Linked DNA regions of Homo sapiens: regions 1 and 3 are each linked to region 2. The links are contacts of gene promoters, found by promoter capture Hi-C in blood cells and fetal thymus (Javierre and others, 2016). All regions are on one chromosome and are shown on one strand. Each heading gives the region's core, a stretch centred on a gene start or on the middle of the fragment in contact. The rest is flanking DNA. Distances are from core to core; before and after follow the strand shown.

Region 1 (4,807 bases), core at 1,140-3,639, 2.7 Mb before region 2:
TACCCCAAGTTTACTGGAATTTCTCCCATTTTGGGTGGCGGGGTGGTCTCTTCATTCATTAACCTTAAAATTCTTCTCCTTCCCTTTTGATTGGATATTTAAAATGTTAAAATAAGGCTGGGCTGTGATTTCGTGTTCTAGCAGTTGATGTCACCACTAATACAAAATTGTTTTGTTTTTAGCCTGCCTGAAATAATCTTAGGTTTACGCTTTGCCTCGTTAAAAAACAAGCTCCTAGCCGGGTGTGGTGGCGGAGGCCTGTAATCCTAGCACTTTGGGAGGCCAAAGTGGGAGGATCGCCCGAACTCAGGAGTTTGAGACCAGCCTGGGTAACAGGAAGACCCCATCTCTACCAAAACTGGAAACATTAGCCAGGTGTGGTGGCTTGTGCCTGCAGACCAGCTAGTTGGAAGGGCTGAGGTGGGAGGATCGCTGGAGCCCAAGAAGTGGCGGCTGCAGTGAGATCACACCACTGCTCTCCACCCTGGGCAACAGAGTGAGACTCTGTCTCAAAATAATAATAATAACAATAATAATAATAGTAACAAATATCTGCAAACTTGATTGGAATTTCTATTATTTAGTAACTATTAAGCAAATATATGTAACCTACAGACTCATTGCCAATAGAAACACATATCGCAACAGGTGTTAAAAAGTAACTGGAGATCGGGCCATGCCCTAAGCAGCCTCTAAGCAATTTATCATATTTCACTGTTAACCTAGTCATTTGAATGAGTTGTTTTTGTCTGAAATTCTTTTTTTTTTTTTTTGAGACGGAGTCTTGCTCTATCACCCAGGCTGGAGTGCAATGGCACGATCTCGGCTCACTGTAACCTCCACCTCCCAGGTTCAAGTGATTCTCCTGCCTCAGCCTCCCGAGTAGCTGGGATTACAGGCGCCCACCACCACCACACCTGGCTAATTTTTGTATTTTTAGTAAAGACGGGCTTTCACCATGTTGGCCAGGCTCGTCTCGAACTCCTGACCTCAGGTGATCCGCCCACCTCGGCCCCCCAAAGTGCTGGGATTACAGGCGTGAGCCACCTTGCCCGGCCTGTAATTCTTAAAACCTTAATAACCTTGGCTGATGATGAAACCTCCTCAGAATCCAGATACCCCAACGACCCACAAAAAAAAAAAAAAATCAAAATCAAACAAAAAAAAGCTGCCCCAAAGTAATGTGCATAGTGGTTTGTCTAGAAGAAATAACGTGGCATAAGAATGAAAACTTGTCACATCTAAGAAATATAAATTCAACAAAGATAGGTCTGCAGACCTCCTGTAGAGAACCCATCATTGTCATGGCCCAAAACTTTCTAAGAGAATTTTCTCTAGGAACCAATTAGAATCCTTTAGAAAAAAATCTTGGCTGGCCATCCCAATTGCACGTGGATCCCAGGGCTCAGCCCAGATTCTAAACACAGTGGCCAAGATTTAAAATCATTCACCAAAGAGCAAATGTTTTGACTTTCAAAGAGCAGAACTGCAGCAGAATAGCCAACAGGAAATTAAATTCCCTAAGTTAAATACTATGTACTGCCAGCGGTGTAGAACTACTCTTCCATCTCACCCAGTATGAAACCTCCTCACTAGAGATGTAGTGTCCCTTTGGGGCAGAAATGAATTGTTTTTGTAGCTGGGCGCAGTGGCTCATGCCTGTAATCCTAGCACTTTGGGAGGCCGAGGCGGGGGGAGGGCGGGGGGGGCTGGTATCGCCTGAGGTCAGGAGTTCGAGACCAACTGGGCCAACTTGGTGAAACCCCGTTTCTACTAAAAATACAAAAAAGTTAGCTGGGCATGGTGGAACATGCCTGTAATCCCAGGTATTTGGGAGGCTGAGGCATGAGAATTGTTTGAACCCGGGAGGCAGAGGTTGCACTAAACCGAGATCGCGCCACTGCACTCCAGCCTAGGCGACAGAGCAAGGCTTCCACTGACACCCTTAGCCCAATGTATTGGATACAACAGGGTCTCAACAAAAGTACCCTCTGATTTGTACACTGCTCTCTGCCTTTGGCAGCCCCAGGAGTTAAAGAACATCGCGTGTATTATCTGCGCATTAGAATGCTGAAATTGAAATTACGCCTCTAGGTTCCTAGACTGAGATTGAGATAATCAGCCCTGTAAACCAGGGCTCCTTTAGGAAGAAAGGTGTCTCTCTTGACGTTCCCCAATCATTGCGAGAACAGAATCCCTAAACAAGGGATTCAAGGGAACAGTCACAGATCCTGGGGTGGGGGCATGTTTGCTACGTGTACATCCGAAGACGACCGCGGGCTGGGGACGGGCGGCCTGGCGGGACAGCCCCGGGCTGAGTAACCCCTCTTCCGGGCAAGCCCCAGGCGTGAGTCACTGGAGAGCGCGACGGGAGGAAGGGGCGCCCTGAGTCCACAGCCCTGGGGGAGGTCGGAGGGTCTGAAAGCGAGAAGTCCGTGAGTAGAAGGTACGTAGGAAGTGGGTCTAAAGGGACTGCCTTCCTGGGGGTGGGTGAAGGGCTGGATCCCAGGGAGCGAGGGACCAAAGGGGTGGGGCCTGCTCCAGCGGCCACGGGGAGGGGCCGGGGGTCGCTAGAAGGAGGCCGACCAGCCCGCGGCGCCGAAATCTCCCGCGCTCAGCAGCTGGCCCCTCCTCCCCGGCCAGGCCTCAGGCCCCTTGCCGCGGCCGGGCCCGCCGGCCGGCTCCTCCCGCTGTCCCCGCGACGCAGCCCTGGCCCCAGCCCAGGCCTCGACCTCGACCTCAACCCCGACCCCGACCCCGATCCCAGCCCTGGCCCGGCTGCGAAGCCGCCAGCCTACCCAACCGGCGTACAGCCGGCGGCCCCCGATGCGCGGCCACTGACGGCACCGCAGGGTGCGTGGCCAATCAGCGCGGCCCCCGAGGAGGCGTCCTCGGCCCCGCCCCCCTGCGCCCAAGGCCAGTGAGGCGCCGGCGCCGGCGGCCGCGGCGGGGTGAGAGGCCGCGAGGCCCCGCCCCGTCCTCCCCTTTCCCCTTTGCCCCGCCCTTCCCGCGCGGCCCCCCGCAAGCCCCGCGCCGCCGCTGGTGCCGGTCCCCGCGCTGGGCCCGCCCCCGCCCCTCCCGCGGCCCGCGAGCGCGCCTCACGGCTCCTGTCTCCCCTCCCTCCTTCTCTCTCACGCCTAGCGCAATGGCGGCGGCCGCGGCGGAGCAGCAACAGTTCTACCTGCTCCTGGGAAACCTGCTCAGCCCCGACAATGTGGTCCGGAAACAGGCAGAGGTAACCGAGTTCGCCGCCCCAGTCTTCGCGCCCTGGCCGGCGCGCCGACCCTTTACCGACGCCAGCCGCACCGGGCCTCGGCCGGTCCGCGGCGGCCGCGCAGGCTGGGCCCGGCGGGCGGCGGCCGCGCAGCCCACGTGTGAGGCGGCCCGCGGCTCCCGGTCGTGCCCCCGGGCTTTTCCGGCCATTGCTGCCGCGGCGCCTGGCACCAGTTACCTCCCCGCCGCCGCTCGCACCCACGTGCGGCCGCTCCCGACGCGCCCCCGTCCAGGTGTGGGGTGCCGGGCGGGCCCGGGGCCCCAACTTCGCTGGCCACCCCGCTTCCCAGCTCCCCGCTTGCCCCTTTCCCGCTTTCTCCCAGTGGGAGCCCCCACTGCCCTTCCAGCCGCTGTCTCCACCCAGCCTAGCGCTGTGGGTCTCCCAAACCCTGGCTGCTACCTGACCCGTCACGCCTGCTTCTACCCCTGCTCATCTCCCACACCGTCTGTCCCTCTCTTTTTAAATATGTGCCCTGCCTTGTCCCTACTGCCTTTTTCCATTTAGTTCTTTCTCATTCTAGTTCCTAACATCAGAAGCCAGATTTCCCTACCCCCTCCCACCTCCAGTTTTGTGAAGTTGCCTTTAGGGTTTCTTTCTATGCAGTTTCCACCTTACTCTGGGCTTATAATACACTTACTCTGCTCTTCAGACAAATTTTCTTTGCTCTCTAGAGAATCGTGGGATAAATGGGATGTAGTGGGACTTCCGTTGTTTAACTGGGCCAGTACCATATGTTTAAGTCTTCAACTTCATTAAATCTAACCGTAATCTCTTTTTTTCAAACCACCTCTTGTTCCTGGCCTCCAAAATGTGGAGAGACTTTCAAGTGACAGTATTTTAAATATATCTGTAAGCTCATTTACCAAGTTCACTAGAAGACTGATGTTACATTTTCAGCGTTGAGACCACGATTCTTGTGGGATACTTCCAGGGGAGGGAGAAACTTTCCAGTTTCTTAGCTGACCGCCAAACTTGGTTATATATGGGGTTTTTGCAACCATGCGATTGTAGAGTTTCATAAGATTAAGTGAAGGATGTTCAGCCAGATATTTTTAAATAACAAAAATTAATTTTACATATAGCCAATGAAATTGACTGCAAGTCCTCTTCTGAACTCAGGCCTGAAGACTTTTCCAGGTGTCTTTGAAACGACGGTGGTAATCGTTGTTTTGAATAGATGGTGGATATGCTGGTTACACTTAGGGGTTTTATATTAAGTGAAGTAAACACACCCAAAATTCGGTTCTATGTGAAAAAGCATTTTCTACTATTCACTTCATTAAGTTTTTATTTATTATACATGTAATACATGTTCAGGGTAAAAATTCAAACAGTGAATCGTTTCTTATCCCGTTTCCCAAAGGTGACCGCTTGTGTCGTGAATCTTCGCTGAAAATTTAACATACACATTCATTTTTTACTTAATGGGCTTATAATACTATTTACACTATTTTGCAACTTGAATTTTTCACTCTATATTTCACATTGCCTCATAAGTGAGGTTTTGGTCAGCTATAGATTATACATCATATG
Region 2 (4,685 bases), core at 1,578-4,077:
GACAAACCTGGACTTGCCGGCTGCACGACCTTGAACTGCTTAGTCTTTCTAAGAATCAATTTCCTCACTGGCACAACACAGTACCACCACCACTTTCTTCAGAAGGTGGTGGTAAGGATTAAAGGAGAAAATGTATGCAAACAACTAGTTCTCATTATTGTTAGATTTTGGAGAAATTAGCCGCTGCTTCCCAGTCCCTGACTGCCTGTCTCGGGCGCACCCATGTTGCCAGTGTTTATTCCTGCAGATGGGCTGAGCACTAGGGCCAGCAGTAGCCCATCGGGTGACCTGGTGCGACTGAGAAAGGCGGGCCCTTCTTTTGGGCAGACCCGGGGCACATGGCTTCCTTGGTCAGGTGTCTGGCACAAACTGTACAACCATGCACAGTGACCTTGTTCCCAACTCTCCTTCCTCCAACACTAAACGACTTCTGTTCCTCAATGACCTGAGCCAGGCCTGGCACTCAGTTAAAAGAAGCCCTGTCTGAGCAAGGTGGCAGAGACGGGGGACCACCCTCTCTACATCCCTTCCCCCCTTTTTTTGAACAGGGTTTCACTCTGCCACCCAGGCTGGAGTATAGTGGTATGATCATAGCTCACCACAGCTTCACCTTACTGGGCTCAAGGGACCCTTCCACCTCAGCCTCCCAAGTAGCTGGGACTATAGGCATATGCCACCATGCCTGGCTATTTTAAATATTTTTTTGTAGAGACAGGGTCTCACTATGTTGCCCAGGCTGGAATCAAACTCCTGGCTTCAAGCGATCCTCCTGCCTCAGCCTTCCAAAGCATGGGGATTACAGGTGTGAACCACCGTGCCCGGCCTCCACCATTTTTTACAGTCAGGACATGAAATAGGAAAGGATGCTCTGTTTTCTTCCAGATGGGCCCTAGGTTGAACTTTCTGGTCCCTCTTCTCCACATGATGTCCTGCCTGGGCTCCCTGGCTCCTCTGCCATAGCTGGATCGTTAGTTCACCTTATGAAGCAACAAAAAGAGAGACCCACTGTGGCCTCTGCTACAGGCCAAGCAGAGGGCACAACCCAGGAGGAATGAAGTCAGTGTTCTGCTCGCTACCTGACTCCTGCGACAGAATCAACTGGCCCCTCAACAGGGGCTGAATCTGGAACAAAGCAGACGTCCCTTTATCCTACAATTTCTCAAACTTCTCATATCGAGCCTCTGTTTTCAGGAGGTTAAAACAAATTAATCATCAGTGAGAAGGCCAAAAAGACCCCACACAGGGACCCCAGAAAAACAAATGTCATCCAGCTGTGAACCATGAGGGCCCAATGACAGCTGACACGGCAGCCTGGACTGCGGTAAACAGAATGGCGAGACCAAACCTAAATGTTTCCCCTTGGAAAAATTAGCAGCAGCCACCTACAGAAGAATATTCCCCTCCATGCATCCAGGGGCCTGCTGACCTCTGCCCAGCCTTTCTACCTCATCTGTAACATTCAATCACATAGCCAGCCATCCTATGCACGCTGAGAGGTGACAGCGCCTCTGGGAATCAGATTAGAGAACACAATCGTTTGTGACCCTGCATCCCTGGGCCTGGCAGTTTCCTGACTGATCAGACCCTGGGCCCCTCAAGGCAGGGGCGCGAGCCACCACCACCGCCCTCCTCCGTGCAGTGCTGAATACATGCTACTGAAGGCTAAGGTATCGTCCTGCTGTGACGGCCTTCCCATTTTATAATTCAGTAGCGCACGAGGGCCATGGCTGCCTATAGCAAGAATGTGTGTGGTTTGATATTCACAGTTCCACTGTCCCAGAAAGTTTCCAGTTTGCTAGCTTGTAGCCATTTCCCCTATCTAGGTGCACTGGCCGTGATTTTACCCCACTCCATCTGGGGCGCGCCCGGCGCAGACAGGACTGCAGAGAAAAGGGACAGGGAGGGGACCTAGTCAGTCCCTACTATAACTGTTTCTCAAGACATTCTCCCCATGCATTTATTTGCTCTCCCGGGGAAAGAGCGAAGTGTGGGATGACTCATAGTGGCTAGATCGTTCCTCTAACTCCTCCCTTCTTTTGTGTGTGGTTTAAAAAAAAGAAAAACACACACGCAGCCCATAGCCACAACATCAACAAGACCAGAAGCCCCGCAGAGTTCGCAGGAGGTGGGCAGTGGCTGCGCCACCTGCTCGGCTTCCCCAAACTCCGAGCCCACGCCGGGAAGCGGCGGCTCGGTGGCCCCGGGCGCCCGGGCCGGTGGCCCCGCGCTCGCGCCGCTCCGCTCCGCAGCCGAGCGTGGAGTAGCAGGCGCTCGCGGCGCGGCGGGGGAGCCGCCGCGGAACCCAGGGCAGGCGGCCAAGCGGCCCGGCTGTGTCCAGCCATCGCCTGCGCCGCGGCCAGCTGGCGGCCAGGCGCGGGGCCCCGCGGCCAGATGGCCGCTCCGGGGACGCGCCGCAGGCGCCGGGTGCGCCCGGGCCGAGGGAGCGCCGGCGCGGCTGTGCAGGCAGGGGCTGGGGGCGGCGACCTCTGCCCGGGCGGAGAAGCTCAGGGGCCCGAGCGCGGCGGGCGGGGCGCGCAGCCTCCACGCCGCGCCCTTTGTCCCATGTGCGGCTCACACAGGGGCCCGCGTCCCCCGTGACCCCGGCCCGGGCCGCAGCTCAGGTCCCGGAACCAACTCCTCCAGCAGCGCCGCTCTGGCCCGGGCCGCCGTGCGGGGCTCGGGACACGGCGGCAGCGGGGAACCCGCGCCCGCTCCGCGTCCAACTCCGCTCGCCCCGCGGCGCGCTCGGCCCTGCAGGGGCCGCCCCGCGCGTTACCTGCAAGGAGCCTGAGCCCCGGCCGCATCTCCCTCCCGGGTGCGGAAACTCTGGCGGCTCCAGGCACCCGCCCGGACCTGGCAGGGGGAGGGGCCGCCCGCCGCGCACCCGACCCCCCCCGCGCCGCGCCTCCCGCAGCTCCCCACGCGCGCGGGCGCCCCCCAGCACCAGTCTCGGCCCGCCCCCTCCGCCCGACCATTGGCTGCTGCTCCCGTCACTTTCAGGCCACAGCCAAGTCCCTCCTCAGCTCATTGGCGGACGCGCCGGTGACGTCAGGCCAGGGGGCGCTAGTCGGCGGCGAAGGAGGCGCAGGGACAGACGGACCCGGCGGGAGAGGAGGAAGCCGGGTTGTGGGCGCGGAGCTGAGGCGGAGGCGGGGCCGGGGCGGGAAGGGGCGGCCCCAGCTGGGTCGGGCGAGGCTGGCTGCGGGAAACCGAGTGAGCCCTCGCTTTTCCTCCGGGGTCCGCGCGCGGGACCCTATTTCTGGCCTGTCTCGCGCTTCGCCTGCGCGGTGGTCTCCACGCTGGGACTGCGGCGTCCTCGCAGAACAGCCAGAACTCCACTTCTTCCTGTCCGGGAGGAGTTGTTTAAAACATGCGTATCTCCACCTTCTGCTTCTTAGAACAGAACTGACTGAAGCCGTGTTCTTCCCGCCGAGACCATGCCGCCCCATCGACCCTGCTGCGGCCAGAGCCACCCAGGGCGGGCCCACTCACCGCAGGCTCGGGCCACTTGGTTCCAAACCTCCACTCCCATCCAGGGGCCCGGCACACCCACCACACTCCCACTCTCAGAGGTCTTTGCCGCCTGCTTCAGGAGAAAAGAGAAACTTCCACTTTCCACCGGCAAAACTGCACACCTGCTCCCTCCATCACCGAGCCCCCCCCCCCACCTTCTGTTTTTCCAGTATCGCAGAATCCGATCCGTTGCTCCCTCTGGACTGGAATCCGTATCCTCGGCATTTCATCATTCCAAGATTCTCTACTCCACGTACCCTTGCTGCCACCCTCTTCTACTTTCCATCGCTGAAGTTGGTGAAAGAGGCGCCTGCCCCCAGTTTTGTGGTCTCTCAACTCCACGTGTTCGTTTTCACACTCGGTGAAATTGCCTTTTTAATTGTCGCAAGTAGCATCCACATCACTAAAGTCAAAGGACACTCTCCTTTCTCGTGTTAACTGATCTGAGCAAAATTCCTTCTTTCTCCTTAAAACACGTCTTCCTGTGGCGGGGGTGCTCCACTTTCCTGTCTGTCCCCAGTCTTGGCGTGCTTGTCTACTCTGGGTGACCACCAAATAACAGAGTTTTCAAGGTCTCAGACCTTTCCTCTTACTCCACAATTTTTCCCTGAATGATTTAACCTGCTGTCAACATTTAAATCAATATATCCCAAATTTGCAACTCTAATCTTTGCTCCTCTGAGCTCCAAATCCGTTTATCTAGCTTCCTATTCAGCTACTCCTGGTAACAAGCACCTCAAATGGAACCCATCCAAAACTGAATGCGTCCTTTCCCTGCTTGCTTTCAACTCCCTGTCTCCCTGTGATAGTGAAGACACCACTATCCAGTGTTTCCCAAACTCTGCCTTCACCTCGGCATCTAACAAATCGCCAAGATTCTACTTCCTAAATAACTCTGAAGTCTGTCCACTTCCTACCATTTCCAGTATTACGTATCATAATGTGCTTACTGCACGTGCGTTTTCCCGGCCCACACTCAGTGATGTCTCGTTGGTAGACTGTAATGGGCCATGGTCGAAGTATTTACACCATGGAAATTAGCCAACATTATGAATCATGAATCAGGGATCGATTTGTTTTGCTGATTGTCTCTAGACTTCAGAAAGTGATGGGGAAGATGTTAATAATGTAGATTAAACTTAAAAATGTGTTTAGTGCTGAAACAAGATTGC
Region 3 (4,250 bases), core at 200-2,699, 2.1 Mb after region 2:
AGGTTGAGGGTACAGTGAGCTGTGATTGCACCACTGCACTCCAGACTAGGCTAGGAAGTGAAACCCTGTCTTAAAAAAAAAAAACTCACGCTCAGCCATGGGCAAAAGCAAAGTAGTAGGTAGTGTATCATCTTTTGCCAAATAACAAAATTTACAACCTGCCTTTTACTTGACAACCTTTTATTCCAGTATTTTTTTCTGTATGAAATACACACAGTCAGCATCCACCAATAATAGAGACAATCATTTCAGAAGTATAGGAATTATAAAAATAAGTTTTAAGTATGATGTTAAAGTATTAAATTCATTGGAACAAAATATTTGTTACAATCATATAGGAGATTAATACTTCGATACTTTCCTTCCGAACTCTGAAGTTTCAAATAGTACTTCATTTTTCTTTTTCAGTTTCAAAACATGCTTACCTGCAGATGTCTCCTTGAAAATTGAGGGCCGCACCAGAGAAAGATGAAGCCCATCAAGTCTCTAACAACTAGGTTTAAATCCCTTATAATAGCTTATGCGAAAAGTAGTTAGAAACAGTATTTCCAGCAAAGTGGAGGGACTTTGTCTTGCCCTGATAATGTGGGAATCTGAATCAAAATTGCTAGGAGATTATTTTATATGTTATATACAATACATTATATTGCATATATTATAATTCGGAACAATTTCTACAGCTACAGAGAAAAATGGGTAACCAAATATCCTGGAATATAAACTGCTGTGGAGAAACGAGTTCTTGGAAAGAAAAATCTTAAAGGGAGAAACAGATTTAACCGCCATCCAAAATAGGTAAGGAGCCGTTTCTCGACTTACTTATTCCCTGATGTATCCACTGCCTGAATATAGAAATAGCGGGCGGGAAGGACGACGTCTGCTTTTAGCCCGGGTCCCCATATTTCGCTCTTCTCCGGGCTCAGCTGCCTTTCTCCGCCGGTCTCGGCGAGTGCTGGAACTGTCGCCAGAAAGAAGCAATAAAGTAGCAAAGTGCCAAACATTTACAAGACGGACTCTCGAAATGATCCACCGATAAATGAAGAAGTGTAAGAGGTGGACAGAAGCAGCCGAGCCTTCGGCAGGGACCCGCCGGCCGATCGCAGCAGCCAACGCGACTGCAAAGGTTGCCGCCCGGCGTGCAGGGCAGGCGCGCGGGTCTCCGCGACCCCAGGACAATCAAAGCCCGTGCCCCGGCGCGCCCAGGTGAGGGTCCCCTGGCGTTCTGCTGTCCCGGCCGAGAACCGCGCTGCTCCTCTCTCTCAGGACAATGATGAACTTGAGTTGCTCCTGCCACTGGAGCATCATTTGGGAGCGAATCCGTCTCAGGTTCCAGCCAAGGTGTAGGGCGAGGGGATTGGCCCGTGCGTCGGGCCAGGCTCAGTAACGCCTTCTCCAAGTGGATGGCGGGGTGGACACGCGTCCCGGCGCCCCGGGCTCCCTGGGATATGTAGTTCGCGACAGGACGAGCGGAAATACTGCCAGGATTTTACCACCTCTCGCCCATTTATTTACTTCTCGGTCACCGCTTTCGGGGGACAGATAAACACCACAGATGCCCATCAAAGGGGCGCACGGGTCTGGAGGCGCAGCTCAGGTTTTTGCGTTGGTCACCCTGCCCTCCGCACGTGGAGAGGGCAGGCATAAAGCACCTTGAAAGGAAGGTGCTGTCAATGCTATCCGACGACCTGTCGCCGGGCACCGCAGCATCCTCGCTCGCTCCGATGGGACGAGGGACGCCGGCCCCAGGGTAACAGGAGGCGCCTCGCCGGCCGCGCGCTGGATGCTGTGATCCAGGTCCGGAGCCGGGTTCCGCCGCGGCCGCAGCGACCCGACCCCACCCGACAGGCCAGAGGTACCCCGGGGCGGGGGGCAGGGGCCGAGGTGGCGGCCGGCTGTGCGCTCTGAGCGCCTGGCCCTCCGCTGGGCACCTGGGCGCCGCCAGCCCGGCCTGCTGCCGCTCTACGCGCAGCCACCTGGGCATTCAAAATTTTTACTTAATTCGATACCGGCCTGGGCTGCCAGGGGTCATCGCCTCTCCGAGCCCCGTGGCGTCCAGATGGAGGCCACTGCATGGGTGCGCGCTCTCCCGGGAAGGAGTAGGGGGAAGAGCTGTGTCGCGGGGGGAAGAGAAGCGCCAGGGAAAGAAGGGCCTAGCCCTCTGGTGAACAAAGCTCGATTAGGAGGTGTCCATGTGGATACCGGTGACCCCTGTGCGGCCGTCGGTCTCCACGCCACGCTGGGCAGGGTCCGGGAACCAGCGCGCAGCGGCCGTCGCCTTCCCCTGCACGCCAGCACCCGGGTCTGGGCCGCCGCCAGGAGTCACGGGCTCACCGCCCTGGTCAGCTTGGCAGTCGGACCCGGAGCCGCCTCCTCTGCCTGCCTCCCTCTTGCCAGCTGCCCCGAAAACCCAGAAGAGCCGGTGGCTCCGAGCCAAGGCGGGCCTGGTTCGGCGCCAGGAAAGGGGGTTTCTTTCCTATTTTCTTTTGTGCAATTGTCATTATTAATGATACCGACTCGTTTACTCAAACAGTCGAATCGGAGCCCCAGCTCTTAGCCCGGATGCAGCAATTGCCCGTGGGCCCCCTTTAACACCAACAGCGTCCCCGGGGCCCGGGGCAAGCATGTTCGAGGCGGTCACCCCCGGGCCTCGGCGCGCTCCCCCTGGCGGAGAGCCTCGTCTTCCGGCCGGTGAGGGAAGGTAGAGGAGGGAGTAGGGGCGAGGAGGCCTCGGCGGCCCTTGGGCTCTGCGGGCTGGGGACTCGGGGTGCCCGCGACACGCGCGGAGGCGCGGGCTGGGTTGGCCACGGGCAGGGAGCGCAGCCGCGCTCCTTCCTCTCTGCCCGCGTCGCCTCCGCGCGCACTGGTTCTGCGCGGCGGGGCTTGGCCTGCGCGACTGTCTACTCCGTCCCGGCGGCCTCGGAGCCCGGCCGAGCGGCGAGCTTGTCAGAGGACGGTGGTGGAAACGCTCCCGGCCTCCCCAGGGGCGCGGGCTGGAGGCTGGCGCCAGGCGCGGAGGACTCCCGGTATCTTTTGACAGGCTGGCGCCTCGGCTCTGGGGACCCGCAGGTCTGAAGGGGAGGAAGGGGCCTGGAGGGCGCGGGAGGACACCGGGTGGGAAGGGTGGCATTAGCTCGGCCGGGGGCTATGCGCCTCTGGTTTCGCCCTCCCGCGCATATTCGACCCTTACGAGGTCACCGGAATGCCCCTGCTCCTCAGTTGCCTTCTATACAGGATATCGATCAGGGTATTTTGTTATACGAAAAGGCTTTACTGAAGAGGTTTTTAGAGATGTTTGGTTCTCTCATAAACTTGATACTTGAGAATACAGACAAAATATAACCTGAAAAGACTACAACCTAGGCGATGAAGATTGGCTTTACAAATGGACGTTTATTTTACAGAACACTTCGTTCAGTGACTTTGAACAATCATGACTCTGGCGGTGCTTTTTAAACTTGCCATTTTATAAATTTTTGCTTTGCATACGAGCAAACCATATTTCTATTGCTTATGACATGATTTTATGAGTAAGCTATTAGTTGAGCCTGAGGTCCTGCAGTCATTCTTAGTAGTAAATTTTTTTTTTTTTTTTTTTGAGACGGAGTTTTGCTCTGATCGCCCAGGCTGGAGTGCAATGGTGCAACTGTAACCTCCACCTCTGGTGTTCAGCGATTCTCCAGCCTTGCCTCCTGAGTAGCTGGGCCTACACGCATGCGCCACCATGCACGGCTAATTTTGTATTTTTTTATTTTTTATTTTTTTTTAGTAGAAACGGGTCTCACCATGTTGGCCAGGCTGGCCTCAAACTCCTGACCTCAGATGATCCACCCGCCTCAGCCTCCCAAAGTGCTGGGATTACAGGTGTGAGCCACCACGCCGGCTTAGTAAATCTTAATATAGCAACACCTCACTTGCCTGGAAGAGGGAACCGCAATCAATCAAAATGAGGGCCTACAGTAATGCCTGGCATGATGCAAACACTTAAAAATTATCTGTTGAATGAGACGTCTACAAATCCTAGGCCCTGGGGATACAATAATCTGGAAAACCAGACTTGCAGGATGCAGACGTTGATCATATGAACAGATATGCACAGAAGTAAGTGTAAAATTGCCACCTGGTAAGACCTGTGTGAGGAAGGTACTAGAGTCTGTACCGGGTCACCTGGCCTAGTTTGAGAAGCCAAGAAGGTTTCCCCCAGAAAGTGACATTTGAGCTGACATTGGAAAGATGAATGGGAATGAGCTAAG

What was found. The method cuts DNA at HindIII sites, captures the fragments that hold promoters and counts their contacts. A CHiCAGO score of 5 or more calls a contact.
Region 1: a contact is called between a fragment that was not itself captured here and the fragment with the promoter of TMTC4 in region 2, in 2 of 17 cell types (monocytes and naive B cells). The highest score is 6.6, in monocytes.
Region 3: the fragment with the promoter of BIVM here is called in contact with the fragment with the promoter of TMTC4 in region 2 in 1 of 17 cell types (non-activated CD4 T cells); the score reaches 5.6 in non-activated CD4 T cells.

The regions. Positions count from the first base shown.
Region 1 is chr13:97,973,552-97,978,358 of GRCh38, forward strand. IPO5 (importin 5) reads left to right here. Exons shown (of 29, transcript NM_002271.6): 4 at 3,142-3,235. The coding sequence starts at 3,146. Among named protein-coding and RNA genes, the nearest start is that of IPO5, 22 kb to the left of the region's middle. RefSeq lists silencers at 2,387-3,116, 3,297-3,646. The HindIII fragment of the contact is 7,323 bases long and covers 1-4,807 here.
Region 2 is chr13:100,671,968-100,676,652 of GRCh38, forward strand. It overlaps TMTC4 (transmembrane O-mannosyltransferase targeting cadherins 4), which reads right to left and starts at 2,828. Exons shown (of 19, transcript NM_032813.5): 1 at 2,777-2,828. RefSeq lists enhancers at 1,204-2,093, 3,419-3,498 and silencers at 2,209-2,288, 2,339-2,698, 2,729-3,228. The HindIII fragment of the contact is 7,703 bases long and covers 1-4,685 here.
Region 3 is chr13:102,797,670-102,801,919 of GRCh38, forward strand. BIVM (basic, immunoglobulin-like variable motif containing) reads left to right here and starts at 1,450. Exons shown (of 11, transcript NM_017693.4): 1 at 1,450-1,852. POGLUT2 (protein O-glucosyltransferase 2) reads right to left here and starts at 1,307. Exons shown (of 10, transcript NM_024089.3): 1 at 820-1,307. The coding sequence starts at 1,001. RefSeq lists an enhancer at 1,457-1,676 and silencers at 1,737-2,006, 2,567-2,616, 2,647-3,076. The HindIII fragment of the contact is 9,485 bases long and covers 1-4,250 here.